Linked DNA regions of Homo sapiens: all the other regions are linked to region 5. The links are contacts of gene promoters, found by promoter capture Hi-C in blood cells and fetal thymus (Javierre and others, 2016). All regions are on one chromosome and are shown on one strand. Each heading gives the region's core, a stretch centred on a gene start or on the middle of the fragment in contact. The rest is flanking DNA. Distances are from core to core; before and after follow the strand shown. Region 1 holds the start of REC8 (REC8 meiotic recombination protein). Region 2 holds the start of PSME2 (proteasome activator subunit 2). Region 3 holds the start of DCAF11 (DDB1 and CUL4 associated factor 11). Region 4 holds the start of IPO4 (importin 4). Region 5 holds the start of RBM23 (RNA binding motif protein 23).

Region 1 (2,700 bases), core at 25-2,524, 1.3 Mb before region 5:
GGATCTGGAGCATCTTCTAGGGTCTCCATCATGGCCAGGTGGTTAGGAAGCAGCAGGCTGGGTCTGGGAGAGAATGTAGGCCGTGAAGGACTGAGGCTGAGCCAGGCTGAGGCCAAGCTAGCAGGTGTTCCATCAAAGGCCCAGGGCACACTCACAGCTCAGTCTCCATATCTATTCGGATCTGCAGCTGGGCACGGTGGAGGCGCTCCAAGATGTGCTGGATGTCCTCTGTGGGCAGGGAGGACGAGGTAGACAGCCAGCTTAGCAGACAGCTGCTCAGCCCGCCCCACCTTTGAGGGTTCCCAGCCTTACCCACGAGGTACTGGCATTGTTGAGAATAGACGCGGATCACACCGATCTGAAGTTGGGCTGAGAGATAGAGGGAGAAGCGGGGCCGCGGCAGGCCGGGCTGCGGGGGTTGCACTCGTACCAGCACGTAATTGAGGATTTCCTCGCTGGGGAACAATGCGCCCTGATTACCGCTGCGTCCAGGAGTGGGCCCACAGTCTTGGCCACCCCATCCCCTAACTCACCCCCCGCACCAGGCCCTCCTTCCCTTTTCTGGGCCTTACCAGGTTTTCACCACATTCACCCTCAGGTATTCGCGCTTCACCAACCGGCTGCCGCGAGTCGCCGCCAGCCTGAAGTGGGTGGGGAAGGTGGGAGAATGGGGATGGAGGGGGAGCTGTCAGGCTGGGATCCCGGGCAGCGTCCGCCATCGCGCGCCAACGGGCCCCGCCCTTACCAGATGGTGGCAAAGCAGCCGGTGTGGCGCTGAAGCACGTTGGGATAGTAGAACATTGTCCCTCTGGTCTTTCACCCTCGATTCCACCAGATCCCCGTTCGGATCTGAGTCGGAATTCTTTAGGGCACAGAATTCCCAACACCTTGGAGAGAAGTCAGGATTTGGACTTCTCTGGTGGCAAGGTGGGTGCACCTAGAAAGCCAAGTTAATGAGGCAACGAACAATGGGCAGATACACAATTACCAGGATAACTGAGACGCAGGAGATGGGCGCCCCTCTCTGTGGACCCTCAGTGGATCCGCACGCCACGTGATGCGTCAAACTTGAGACTTCTGGGTTGGGTTCCAGGTTGGAGATGCAGAGCTCCAAGGGGACGTCCGGGCCGGAATCCAGAGCAGGTCCCGAGGGAGCACGGTGTCCTCCACAGCAGGCCTCGGTCCTCGAGCGCTGGGAGCGATGTCAGGCCCCTGGGCCTTGCACTGGCTTGGGCGGCCGCGGTGTGGCCCCGGGCCGCCTACTGCAGGACTAGATCGCACCGCGGGAAGCGAGCGCTTCGGGGCACCGCACCTCGCTCCTCATTAGATGGCGGCTTTTGCCCTGACAGCCAATGGGGAACGGGGGTCGGGTCGGGAACGCCAAGTATCCTGGCAACAGGGTCTCCCGAGGCAGCCAGCAAACCAATCATAAGGATTTTGCGCGCCGCTGGGGTCCATTGTGAGGTGTTCCGACCAATGGGCTCCGGTTCTCGCCTCTAGTAACAGGCGCCCCTTCCTTGACCAATGAGCGCATCCCCGTCGCTCCCCCGCCGCTCCCCCGCCGCAAGCCTGGCAACAAGGGCGCCTCAATTGGTAGGGGAGGTCGGGTCACCTCGGGGGCAACTGTACTGGGCCTCTTCCGGGTGCCAAGATGTACCTTGCACGGCGCCTGACCTGAGGTTAGACCCCGCCCTTCCCCCAATCCACAAACTCCGACTTTGTTTCCAACTAGGGCGTGTCGTGTGCTGCAGAGGAAGAAAGATGTGAGATGAGGCCGGGCGCAGTGGCTCACGCCTGTAATCCTAGCACTTTGGGAGGCCGAGGCGGGCGGATCATGAGGTTAGGAGTTCGAGTCCAGCCTGACCAATATGGTGAAACCCCGTCTCTATTAAAAATGCAAAAGTTAGCTGGGCGTGGTGGCACGCGCCTGTAATCCCAGCTACTCAGGAGGCTGAGGCAGGAGAATGCTTGAACCTGGGAGGCGGAGGTTGCAGTGAGCCGAGATCATGCAGCTCCACTCCAACCTGGGCAAGGGAGCAAGACTCCGTCTCAAAAAAAAAAAAAAAAAAAAAGGCTGTGAGATGATGGCCTTGGAGCCACCACAGGTCAATGAGGAAGAAGTCCATTTTTTTTTTTTTTGATGGCCTTGGAGCCACCACAGGTCAATGAGGAAGAAGTCCATTTTTTTTTTTTTTTTTTGAGATGGAGGCTCTCACTGTTGCCCAGGCTGGAATGCAGTGGCGCTATCTCGGCAATCTCGGCTCACTGCATCCTCTGCCCCCCATCCCCTCAGGTTCAAGCGATTCTCGTGTCTTGGCCTCCTGAGTAGCTGGGATTACAGGCGCCCTCCATCACACCCAACTAATTTTTGCATTTTTAGAAGAGACGGGATTTCACTATGTTGGCCAGGCTGGTTTCTTTTTTTTTTGAGATGGAGTTTCACTCTGTCACCCAGGCTGGAGTGCAGTGGCGCAGTCTCAGCTCATTGCAGCCTCCGCCTCCCCGGTGCAGGGGATTCTCCTGCCTCAGGCTCCCGAGTAGCTGGGATTACAGGCGCCCACCACCACACCTGGCTAAATTTTGTATTTTTTAGTAGAGACAGGGGTTTCACCATGTTGGCCAGGCTGGTCTCGAACTCCTGACCTCAGGTGATCCGCCCGCCTTGGCCTCCCAAAGTGCTGGGATTACAGGCGTGAGCCA
Region 2 (2,700 bases), core at 3-2,502, 1.2 Mb before region 5:
GTGCGGCGTCCAGCTGCAGGTAGCGGGCGGCTAGCGGCAGAGAGCTGGCTAGTAGCGGCCGGAGCTGCTCCAGGGAAAACGCCTGCCCGGAATCCCTCCTCAGGGCGCTCGCCAGCTCCTCGCGGGCCACCAGGAAGGCCCGCTCCTCTTCCTCCCCCGGCATCCTGAGGCAGGAGTCAGCCCCAGCCTCGCCGCCCGCCAGGACCCGGCGCGGGCAGCGCGCGGCCCGAGCGCCGCCCCTCCCGTCTGGTGCCCGGCTTTGAGGCCCACCCCGGCCCACGCAGCCGCCCCAGGTCACTCAGACCACGGTCACTCTCCAGCCCCCGGCCCAGCGCCAGGGTTAGCCGAGAACAGGAAGTACTAGGAGAGAGGGTGGGACTGCGACCCAATTTCGGAGGAACGGGCGGGGCTTAAGGTTAAGGTTGGAGCGGTGTCAGGAAACCAGGGGGCGCGGCCAAGAGGGAGGGCCAGGTCCCAACCAATGAGAAGGCAAATGGCTCCTGGCTCCTCCCTCAGAGCGCGCCAGCATCTTCCCTCAGTCAAGCGCTCTTCCCCGCCTTCCCCCAATCTGGTTCCACCCCTTCCGGATAGCCGCAGGCGCGGGGTTATCCTATTCAGCTCAAAACCTTTCTTTTTCTAGCTGGACCAGTCCGGTACGCTCCGGGCCTCACCGAGGAAGTCCCACCCTGCAGGGGAACCGACTCTGGCCGGCCCTAACCCCTCTCGAGCGAGTCCCGCCCCATCTCCGGTCTGTCCTGAAGGCAGAGGGAAGACCCTCACCCAACCCCTGCCCGCTCTCTTCTAAGAGCTGCTAGTCCTTCTCCACCCCAGGCGCTCCCTCTGGCTGCCCCTCCCACTCGCTCTGATCTCTCTCCGTCCGCTACTTGCGGTCGAGCCTTCTTGGGGGAGCCCCGCCACTGAATACCCCCTTTGCCATACTCCCACCTCTCTTACCCCAACCCTGGACTTCCAGTTGGCCCTAGCTATAAGCCCCGCCCCTCTCCGAGGGACAGCCCCCGCTCCAGTCTCCGCGGTCCCACTTACCCTAGCCCCTCCCTCGGGCAGCCCCTGGACTGTGACCCAGCCAGCACCGCCTCTCCTAGTGGCAACTGGCTGGGAATGGCTGAGGGGCTACCTACTGCTTGCGGCCTGCCAGCGGGAGGAGGGGGGCGGAAAGAAGAAAGGGGGCGGGGTTGAGGGGGGCGGGCCTGGACCTGGGGAGTGAAAGCGAAAGCCCGGGCGACTAGCCGGGAGACCAGAGATCTAGCGACTGAAGCAGCATGGCCAAGCCGTGTGGGGTGCGCCTGAGCGGGGAAGCCCGCAAACAGGTAATGGGGAATCGGAGGCCAGGAAGGGGTCATAGAACCCTCTTGGGTGGAGGCCAAGCTGGGTGGTTCAGGGGACCAAGCAGTGCCAGAGAACTCCCCCAATCTCGCTAGTGCCTTCACTTCTCGGGGATTCCCAGATTCCTGCCTTCTGACTGCAGTGAGCAGGAGCTTCCAGGGAAAGCTAGTTTGTGGTGAGAAAGGCCTGAGCCACAGTTCGAGGGCACCCTGTTGTGGGTGGAAGCTTTTGACAACCCAGACCCTTAACCAACATCCGGGTACTGCTCTCTGTGTAGGTGGAGGTCTTCAGACAGAATCTTTTCCAGGAGGTAAGTCTCTGGATTTGAGCGATTTGACCCAGAATCTTGGACCAATACTTGAGGATAACAGCCTCTCAGAATGACCCCCCCAAGTCACCCTAGACTTAACCCTACTTCCCTTACCAAGCCTTCACCCAAAGTAACCCCGGAATTATTGATAGCTACCTTTAATCTGACCTTTCTTATGACTCTCCCGACTTCTGGCACTTCTCCCGTCTTTTGATGTGGAGGAAAAAAACCATGGCTTCCAAAGCAGGAATATCACAGTCCTAACCTTCGTTCTGCCATTTACCAGCTTGGGCAAGTCCTTTCATTTTCAGGTCTTCAGTTTCCTCATTTGCAAGTCTTGGACCCAGTGATTTCCAAAGGCCCTTCCAGTTCCATTTGTCAGACATCTCATTGAGCATATTCTGTGATTCCCCTCCCTTGCAATGTAACCCACAGGCTGAGGAATTCCTCTACAGATTCTTGCCACAGAAAATCATATACCTGAATCAGCTCTTGCAAGTGAGTAGTGTGGGCCCCTTCTGCCCCATCCTATGTCCTCTATCCCCTTTGCCCACCCTCTCTAGCTAACAACTGGATTCAGCATGCAGAGAATAGTTTCAAATAGTGGATTAGGAACATTAGGATGGCGTGAGGCATGAGCCTAGGTTGGGAGGCAGAGTGCAAGTGGGATGTATGGAGGGAAGGCTGTGACCTAGGATGAAGGGAAGAGGTTGGGCAGCCCTTGACAGTGAGCTCTGTGCAGGAGGACTCCCTCAATGTGGCTGACTTGACTTCCCTCCGGGCCCCACTGGACATCCCCATCCCAGACCCTCCACCCAAGGATGATGAGGTGAGGCACTCAGGGTGCAGGACTTGGACTATAAACCCAATGGAGAAGATAGCCCTTCAACCTCTGTGACTTTTCTAAAGCTACTTTCCCCCCTTTTTGCCTTAGATGGAAACAGATAAGCAGGAGAAGAAAGAAGGTAAGAGAGATAAGAGGTGACTAGGGAAGGGGTGATGGCACACTGACTACTGGATGAGAAAGGGCCTGAATCCCCTCTTTC
Region 3 (2,700 bases), core at 171-2,670, 1.2 Mb before region 5:
TTAGAGTCAGGGCAAATTAAACTTGTTTTTCAAGTAAATCGAAGTGGCCTCATATCATGTGTCAACTGCCTTACTAAAAAGTTCAACACTCCCTTCCCATCTCTTCACCCCTTACATCACTCCTTTCCCACTAGGACCCCCCCCTTTTTTTTTTCAAGCTTACTTGGAAAATAGACTATATTTGTGTAGTCACAGAGACAGGCTCCCTTGAATAGCCCCTCAAACACATGAGCAGGTCCTCTTGGTGACCCTCCCTAGGTAAGAACCACTCTTACTGGGTATGGAGCTGAGTGCCATGGGTGCCCAGCAGGGAAAGGCTGTTCAGCTCAAACAGAACAGCTGTCCTGAGCGAATCCCATTTCCTAACCTCTGTAATTTTCCTGCCTGGAGTTGGGATCAAGGCACTGTGGTAGCACCTGCTGGGGGTCACACCAGAGGGTAAGTTACCTGCGGAGGAGATAGGCCAGTACCTGGGCCAGATCCACATCTTCATCCTCTTCTTCCTCTTCCTCACTCCGACGCAGGCCAGCCCCTCTTCGGGGCAAGCCCTCGGAGGGGTCTCCGGACCCGGATCCTGCACTGCTGCTGTTCCGCGATCCCATCTTCTGGTCACAGCATTCTTAGGTCCTGTGCGGGGGCTCCTCCTGTCACCTCCTTGGGTTTGGTGAAAGCAAAGCGTGCTCTAGAAATACCAGGGTCTCCTGAGACGGGGTAGTAGCTATCTCTAGGAGGGTGACCCTTCCTCGGGGCTGAGATCCCTTTTCTTTAGCCTATGCCAACTACCAAGGCGTCGGGAACACAAACCTTCTCCAATCCTGTGAAGCAAAGAAAGCAAGAGTGAACCGTAGTGCGCTACCCTAGCTCACCAACTGAAGAAAGATTTGTTTTCTACACCAAACTCACCTATCGAAGTCCCCGGACTGGGGAGCGGGAGGGGTGTTGGGCGGTGTTGGATTTCCAGGTAACCTCTCTGACCGACCAATCGAAATCCCTCTCGGAAGAAAGCGCTTCACTAGCTTATCTCATCTAACCAATTAGAAGCCTTAGGACTCAAAGACCCTCGACGCCCCCACCTTATCGACCAATCAGAGCGCCCCCTTACAAAGGCCGGCAGCAGTGACAGCCAATGAAAATAGAATTTGGCCTAACACCCCTCCTTCCTCGCCTCACGCCCACGTGGTGCGCCGGGGGTGTGTACGCCATGAGGGGGAGGAAGCCGAGAAGCACCTCCCACTGAAGCCGGCGGTAACCGCCCCACGCGAGACCACCCACCAGCCAGGAGCGGTCGCAGGACCCGCAGCGGCGCGAGGCCTTGTTTACACCGACTGCCGCCACTGCGTTGGCCAACCGCTCCTCCGTCACGCGCTTCGCTCGTCACGCATCTCGCGGCTTCCTGGCCGGCGGGCTGCAAACGTCACACGACGGCCCCGCCCCCTTGGCCAGCCAACTGGACAGCGGAGCACGATGATTGATAGGTAGGCGGGAGAATGCGCGAGGTGCCTGAGGGGAGGAGAAAGTGCACACCCAAGGAGGGCTGTTAGCTCTTGCTGGGGAGGAGTAAGTGGGAACTGCCAGCTTCCTGAATCAGAGACAGCCGAACTAGGCGTAACGGCTGAGAGGCGGGGCTTAAAAAAGAAACGTTTGGTGGTTCGCTACCGAGAGGTATTTTAGCAAGGGATATAATTTACTGTCTGTCCCTAAAGATCATTTGGCATCGCACTTTTCAGACAGTGCCCAAGGGCCTCCTTTCTCCCCACTGCTTCCCCTGTCCAGCTGGAGCCGTTCTTCTGTCGCTGGCCGCAGCTCCAGTCGGTTCTGCCCTAAGGGGTGCCCAGCGTCCCAGTAGACCTCCATACCGTCCTTCCGGGCTTAGCTTTTGGAAGCCTTGCTCTTGGGACGGTCCCCTTTTAGACCTCCCTTTATCCGGTCTGACAATTTTTTAAGACAATCCCTGGCTTTCCGCCGCGGTCTTTGCAGACGTTCCCTAATACACGCGTCTTTCTGTCAAAGCTTTTCCGGTTCCGCTGTCCCCTTTGACGCTCCCTTGGCCCTCCGGGATTTGCAGACCTTCGCTAGTCCCTCTGTCCTCGCGGTGCCTCTCCGCCCCCGGCCGCGGGTCCAGGGTGCGCGCTCGCCGCCTCCTGCCCCCTCCTGCCCCCTCCTGCGGGTTTATGAGTAACAAGCCTGAGTCCAAGGCCGGGAGTTGCCACATCTCTGATCCTCGCCCTGGCTGGGTGGGGACGTGTGGGTTGAATGACCTTGCTGTCTCGGGCTCAGAGGCTCAGGGTCCGAGCTGAACTTCATTCCCTGCAGCCTGCACTTCCTTGGGAAAGCTGCGAGCTTCCCTCCGCCCGCTCCTGAGGGCAGGGATGGGAGCGAGGGCTCGTGGCCTTCTTGGGCCCTCCTGGGGCCTCTCCCAGTGAGGGCGAGGGTTTGGCCAGCTTTCGGGCGACGTCTCCTAGTCTCTAGATCCGGAGACCTGAGCTTGTCACCAGGGCTAGCTTTGATGGCCTCTGCGCTTAGAAGGGTCCTGAATGTTTGGTTTAATGTTCTAGTGTTAACGGTCTTGAAATTATTAGTAATTTTAAAGCAAGTGCCTGGTATTTTCATCTTGCACTCGGCTCCACTGATTATGTAGGCGGTCTGCTGGGCGCCCATCCTCTATTGCCAGATTACTTACTATCTGTGCTTTAACGTTTA
Region 4 (2,700 bases), core at 135-2,634, 1.3 Mb before region 5:
CTCACTTATAAAGCTCTCCGGAGACATTTCCCCCTTCACCTTCCTGGTTTCTGACTTTAATGCCTATGGACATCATGTGGGGTTTAAAGCCCATTTGATGACCCATTTACTTTGTTGAATACCTCTTTGTGCCAGGCAAAGAATAAAGTGGAATAAAATGGACAAGATCCCTGCCCTCAATCTATTAGGGAAGATATTCTTGAAGTGAGAGCGGCTAATCATAGGCAAAAAATCCCCATGAAGCCAGGAGATCTGGGGCAGAGAGTGGAGTGAACTCACTTTTCACAATGACCCAGCAACATGGGAGAGGGTGGGGGCTGGATTTCAGCCCAGCCACTGTGCTGATGGTGCACAGCCCTTTAATGCTGTGTATCATCTCTTTTCTTCACAGTGCCATCTCTGTGGAGCTGTACTACATCTTTGCCACAGTATGGGGTCGGGAGCAGTACACTTTGTACGGCATCCTCTTCTTTGTCTTCGCCATCCTGCTGAGTGTGGGGGCTTGCATCTCCATTGCACTCACCTACTTCCAGTTGTCTGGGGAGGATTACCGCTGGTGGTGGCGATCTGTGCTGAGTGTTGGCTCCACCGGCCTCTTCATCTTCCTCTACTCAGTTTTCTATTATGCCCGGCGCTCCAACATGTCTGGGGCAGTACAGACAGTAGAGTTCTTCGGCTACTCCTTACTCACTGGTTATGTCTTCTTCCTCATGCTGGGCACCATCTCCTTTTTTTCTTCCCTAAAGTTCATCCGGTATATCTATGTTAACCTCAAGATGGACTGAGTTCTGTATGGCAGAACTATTGCTGTTCTCTCCCTTTCTTCATGCCCTGTTGAACTCTCCTACCAGCTTCTCTTCTGATTGACTGAATTGTGTGATGGCATTGTTGCCTTCCCTTTTGCCCTTTGGGCATTCCTTCCCCAGAGAGGGCCTGGAAATTATAAATCTCTATCACATAAGGATTATATATTTGAACTTTTTAAGTTGCCTTTAGTTTTGGTCCTGATTTTTCTTTTTACAATTACCAAAATAAAATTTATTAAGAAAAAGGCTCATGCAGTTGGAGGTTTTGGTCTGGATATAGGAACTCGAGCCCTGCTGTTAAGGGCACGGTCCTTTATAAAGCCGAGCTGGCCACTGAATGCCCGAAGCTCGAGTTCTCCAACCCAGCTTGGGAACTCCCGGCGTGGGGAACCTACATTGCCAGAGTCGGGTTTCCGCGATTCAGCCGGTGCTCAGCCTAACGGAAGTGGAGGAGCCGGACCTCTTTGTGGGAAGCGAATTGAATCACCTTGGCAACCCGCGGGGCGTGCAGCAACGCCCTTTCCTCCGGAAGTGGGTGTCAGAACCTCCACGTGCTGTCCCTCCCCCTCCCCTTTTCGGCCCAGTAGCGGCGGCTCAGTTGCTGCCATGGAGTCAGCCGGGCTAGAGCAGCTCCTACGGGAGCTGCTGCTACCGGACACCGAGCGCATCCGTCGGGTACGGAGCAGGCGTAACCGGGCCAGGGCGAGCGGGAGGTTGCGGGAAAGGCCCAACTCTCACCCCTAGCTTCCCCCCAGGCCACGGAACAGCTCCAGATCGTTCTTCGGGCCCCCGCCGCTTTGCCGGCTCTCTGCGACCTGCTAGCCTCGGCGGCCGACCCCCAGGTGAGACCCCTGACTCTCCCCTCCGAGCTTCCCACTGTACGCCACCGGTCAAGCCCCAGTATTCGCCCACTGCGGTCCGCTCAGCACCTTCCTGCCCGGACCCCCACGTGCTTGCTTCCTCGTCCTAGATCCGCCAGTTTGCGGCCGTGCTGACCCGCAGACGACTGAACACCCGCTGGCGACGGCTGGCGGCGGAGCAACGGGAGAGGTGGGCTGGGCCTGGGGTGGGGCGGGGCCAGGCGGAGACTTTTCTTGGGCAGGCTGGGTACCAAACACCTGCCACCTGTGTTCCAGCCTCAAGTCCCTGATCCTGACGGCCCTGCAGAGAGAAACAGAGTAAGTACCTACCCACTTCTCTCGGGATCTTGACGACTTTGTCTAGGTTTCTGCCTTCCTTTTCGGCTCCAGGCTGGGACTTGTGGGGCAGGGACTTCAGTTCTAGACGCAAGGTGGAGTGAGGATTTTAAGGCTGTTTTGAAGACTAAAGTTCTTGAGGAAGGGTGATGATGATCTGCCAAACCCAAGTCAGAAGAATAAGACTGAAATTCAGGCTAAGTTAGACTGAACTTACCAGATTACATGCCCACAGTGCTGTTGGGCTCCCTCTGAGCTGCTGTCTCATGTGTCCCAACTTGGCAAAGACCCTGTGCCCACACCTCCTGAAAGTTTCTGTCCTGGCTGCCCCATTGAGCCTGGCCACTGTGTGCAGAGGAAGGTATTGAAGGGTGATTGGAGGAGATCTCTCCTGTTTGCAGGCACTGTGTGAGCCTCAGCCTGGCCCAGCTCTCAGCCACCATTTTTCGAAAGGAAGGCTTGGAGGCCTGGCCACAGCTTTTGCAGCTGCTTCAGCACAGTACCCACAGCCCCCACAGCCCAGAGAGAGAGGTACCATCACATGGTTGGCAGGAGGGAGGGCCTGAGAGGCTGGATAGACCTTGTAAGCTTGCTCTCCCATCCTCTATTCTTGGACAGATGGGGCTTTTGCTGCTAAGTGTGGTGGTGACCTCCCGGCCCGAGGCCTTCCAACCCCACCACCGGGAGCTTCTTCGGCT
Region 5 (2,700 bases), core at 143-2,642:
CCCTTTACTGCACGACCATGCTGCCCCCTGCCACTATTTTCCCACACCTCACTTAGACCCAGGCATGTTCAGATCTGTCCTCTTAGCCTATCCAAGACCCAAAGGGGCCTAGTTGTATTCCCTACTTAGGAAGCTGAGCAATGACTATTGTAGTCCTGGATATAGGCCTTTCTGACCAGCTACAGTGAGCTCTTGTCCATTAGAACCTACAGTTAGGCTTTTCTCTGGGGAGGAGGCATAGAGTTTGCCACCTTGGAAAAAGATGGAATAGTGAGTGAAGCCAGTTTCTCTTCTGTATTCTTGAGCTACTGCACGGGCAACTGGTTACCTCTCCTTTGTTACCTCTTGGGAAGACTGGAATCCATCCAGGAATCTCCAGCAAGAAGCTACCTGTTTTTTTTGAATAAAACCACAGGGTTACAGTTTGAAGTCCTAAGAGATCATCTAGTCCAATTTTCCATTTTACAGAGGGGGAGTTTGAAATGGGTACAATGATGTGATATTAGTATCCAAGTCAGAATTGGAAGTCAGGTCCTCCGACTCTGGCTCTCCCCATGTTATAACCAGCTACATTTTTGGTAGCTACAGTAGACCACAGAAGTGTCTAGGGGCTCCTGGAGGCCCCTGGAAAGTGAGGGTGGACATCAGTTCCTTCTTTCCGGTTAGAGGACTCAGTACTGCTACATCCAAGGAGTCACCTGAGAAACTTTCAAATTTACCCTTGCAGTGGGAAATGTGGGGGTACTGATTTGAACGGAAGTTATGACCTGTGGGAGCAGGCCATGACGATAGGGCAGAGTGTGGGCCAAGACAAGTCTGTGGCAAGATCTGCTTTTCCCTGGTCCCAAGCACCGAGGTCAGGAGAGGTGGTCGGGAAGGTTGTTTAGGTAGCCGGCTCAGAACGGGGATTTCGAGTTCAGCATCCCCGGACGTTAAACAAACGCCGCTGTTCTCTACAAAGCTTAACCTTAACGACCGACGTGACTCCTTCAGCAAATCCGAGTAGGGACGGCCAAGGATGTAAATTGTGCCTCCTCGTTGGCTCCGCCCATCGCACTGGTCTAGTCTACGCGAGCACCAGGAGTGGGGTTGGTGGCTTCTTCACTCCCGTTTTCAGTCCCGTTTTCCCCGCCCTCCGCAAGTCATTTAACCAATGAGAGAGTGATGGGCGGCTACCAAAGGACGCTTCCATTTTCTGGAGTCTCTGAGGTTAGCCAATCAATGGGAACTCGGTGGTTGCTAAGACGCATTTGAGTTTGCTCCACCCATACTTAGGACTTTAGCCAATGAGAACCTGTACTTTGGACGGTTGCCGCGAAACCAGTGAGGTTATTTCCAAAGCCGGGGAGTCTTGGCGCATGCGCAGATTGGGGAAGGTTCTGGAAGACGGCAGAGCTGCCGCCATTTTGCGGGAAGAGGAGGCTCTGTACCTGCAGTGCTGCTTTTCTTGCCTAGACTCTAGGAACTATCCGAGCTCCACTCCCCACAACATACTCAAAGGAACGGAGAGAACCGGGACCCCCCTGCGGGGACCCGGAACTGGTGAGAAACCCCAAAACCCGGTCCCCACCAGACGTCACCAATGCGTGACGTTGCTGCACGGCGCCTCCCCCCTGACGTCACGGGCAGAAAATGGCGTCACGAAGAGATTCAGGCGAACTTTTAACATTAAAAAAACCTTTGTTTGTTTTGACCTGGAAGTGTTAGCTACTTAAATGTAGCCCACTGCCACGATTTTAGAGTTGGGCACCCTCGTGGCTGTATCTTGCACCGATAAAGATGCGGTTTCTAGAATCCTGTGATTTTTCTTTCCGGGTCTCTGCAGCCGTGACACTTAGGGTCGCCCACACTGGAGAGGGAGCATCGACCCTCCGCGGCCTGAGAGGACACGCATCATCAGTTTCAGCCACTCGCACCACCATTCAGAGAGAGAGAAGGGAATTGAGCTTTCTTCCTCAATCTCTAGTCTGTCGAAGATTCATGTTCACTATGTTGACCTTTATGGGCTTTTCCCATTTAACTTTTTCAAGCACTCATTCCAGTAGGCGTATTATGATGCCACATATGAAGATTGAGCCCTGGGACACTGGCTCCCGCAGAGATTGTGCCAGTTGGTTGCCTATAGGACCTCTTTTTTTTTATTTTTTTAAGGCGGAGTGTCGCTTTGTCACCCAGGCTGGAGTGGAGTGGCGCGATCTCGGCTCACTGCATCCTGTCTCCCGGGTTCTAGCGATTCCCCTGCCTCAGCCTCCCGAGTAGCTGGGATTACAGGCGCCTGCCACAACGCCCGGCTAATTTTTGTATTTTTAATAGAGATGGGGTTTTGCCATGTTAGCCAGGCTGACCTCGAACTCCTGACCTCAGGTGATCCACCCGCCTCGGCCTCCCAAAGTGCTGGGATTACAGGCGTGAGCCACCGCGCCCGGCCTATAGGACCATTTTTTAAAGCTACACAACATGGGGAGGGTGGTCCTTCAAGTAGCTTTTATCGTTCTCATTGTTCCTCTTTTGTTAAGCTGCCTTCAGTTTGTAGGTGTTTGTGCCCAGCTAAGTGATCAGACCCTGGGGATGGCGCTACCATCACCCCTGGGGCTCCAGCTTTTCGTGAATTCTTCCCGAATTGGTCTGACAGTGGTTCTCTCTGCTCCTTTAGCAGTGGGGTCTATCTGTTGGCTTGTGCTATGACGAGGTCTAGGAACT

What was found. Contacts are between HindIII fragments. The CHiCAGO score rates a contact against its expected background, and 5 or more counts as called.
Region 1: a contact is called between the fragment with the promoter of REC8 here and the fragment with the promoter of RBM23 in region 5, in 2 of 17 cell types (monocytes and total B cells). The highest score is 11.7, in monocytes.
Region 2: the fragment with the promoter of PSME2 here is called in contact with the fragment with the promoter of RBM23 in region 5 in 1 of 17 cell types (monocytes); the score reaches 6.8 in monocytes.
Region 3: the fragment with the promoter of DCAF11 here is called in contact with the fragment with the promoter of RBM23 in region 5 in 7 of 17 cell types (monocytes, total B cells, non-activated CD4 T cells and 4 more); the score reaches 14.8 in monocytes.
Region 4: the fragment with the promoter of IPO4 here is called in contact with the fragment with the promoter of RBM23 in region 5 in 8 of 17 cell types (non-activated CD4 T cells, monocytes, naive CD8 T cells and 5 more); the score reaches 13.5 in non-activated CD4 T cells.

The regions. Positions count from the first base shown.
Region 1 is chr14:24,170,654-24,173,353 of GRCh38, reverse strand. It overlaps REC8 (REC8 meiotic recombination protein), which reads right to left and starts at 1,274. Exons shown (of 19, transcript NM_001048205.2): 1 at 746-1,274; 2 at 573-641; 3 at 313-455; 4 at 156-228; 5 at 1-63. The coding sequence starts at 801. RefSeq lists enhancers at 1,044-1,293, 1,362-1,862 and a silencer at 1,464-1,513. The HindIII fragment of the contact is 5,740 bases long and covers 1-2,700 here.
Region 2 is chr14:24,145,162-24,147,861 of GRCh38, reverse strand. PSME2 (proteasome activator subunit 2) reads left to right here and starts at 1,252. Exons shown (of 11, transcript NM_002818.3): 1 at 1,252-1,328; 2 at 1,622-1,654; 3 at 2,090-2,152; 4 at 2,397-2,483; 5 at 2,589-2,619. The coding sequence starts at 1,281. It overlaps RNF31 (ring finger protein 31), which reads right to left and starts at 364. Exons shown (of 21, transcript NM_017999.5): 1 at 1-364. The coding sequence starts at 163. RefSeq lists silencers at 97-326, 357-446, 1,147-1,206 and enhancers at 288-582, 129-629, 767-836. The HindIII fragment of the contact is 5,988 bases long and covers 1-1,571 here.
Region 3 is chr14:24,113,497-24,116,196 of GRCh38, reverse strand. It overlaps DCAF11 (DDB1 and CUL4 associated factor 11), which reads right to left and starts at 1,420. Exons shown (of 15, transcript NM_025230.5): 1 at 904-1,420; 2 at 448-815. The coding sequence starts at 602. NRL (neural retina leucine zipper) reads left to right here and starts at 1,248. Exons shown (of 3, transcript NM_001354768.3): 1 at 1,248-1,475. RefSeq lists enhancers at 1,341-1,490, 1,731-1,870, 1,452-2,167. The HindIII fragment of the contact is 1,852 bases long and covers 161-2,012 here.
Region 4 is chr14:24,187,500-24,190,199 of GRCh38, reverse strand. It overlaps IPO4 (importin 4), which reads left to right and starts at 1,384. Exons shown (of 30, transcript NM_024658.4): 1 at 1,384-1,481; 2 at 1,562-1,648; 3 at 1,777-1,856; 4 at 1,943-1,984; 5 at 2,404-2,533; 6 at 2,621-2,700. The coding sequence starts at 1,413. It overlaps TM9SF1 (transmembrane 9 superfamily member 1), which reads left to right. Exons shown (of 6, transcript NM_006405.7): 6 at 392-1,051. The coding sequence ends at 785. RefSeq lists silencers at 1,813-1,932, 2,178-2,388. The HindIII fragment of the contact is 6,803 bases long and covers 1-2,592 here.
Region 5 is chr14:22,917,841-22,920,540 of GRCh38, reverse strand. It overlaps RBM23 (RNA binding motif protein 23), which reads left to right and starts at 1,392. Exons shown (of 14, transcript NM_001077351.2): 1 at 1,392-1,542. It overlaps PRMT5-AS1 (PRMT5 antisense RNA 1), which reads right to left and starts at 1,085. Exons shown (of 2, transcript NR_120600.1): 1 at 1-1,085. PRMT5 (protein arginine methyltransferase 5) reads left to right here. Exons shown (of 17, transcript NM_006109.5): 17 at 1-12. RefSeq lists a silencer at 1,018-1,317 and enhancers at 1,578-1,647, 1,738-1,847, 1,918-2,087, 2,576-2,700. The HindIII fragment of the contact is 7,114 bases long and covers 964-2,700 here.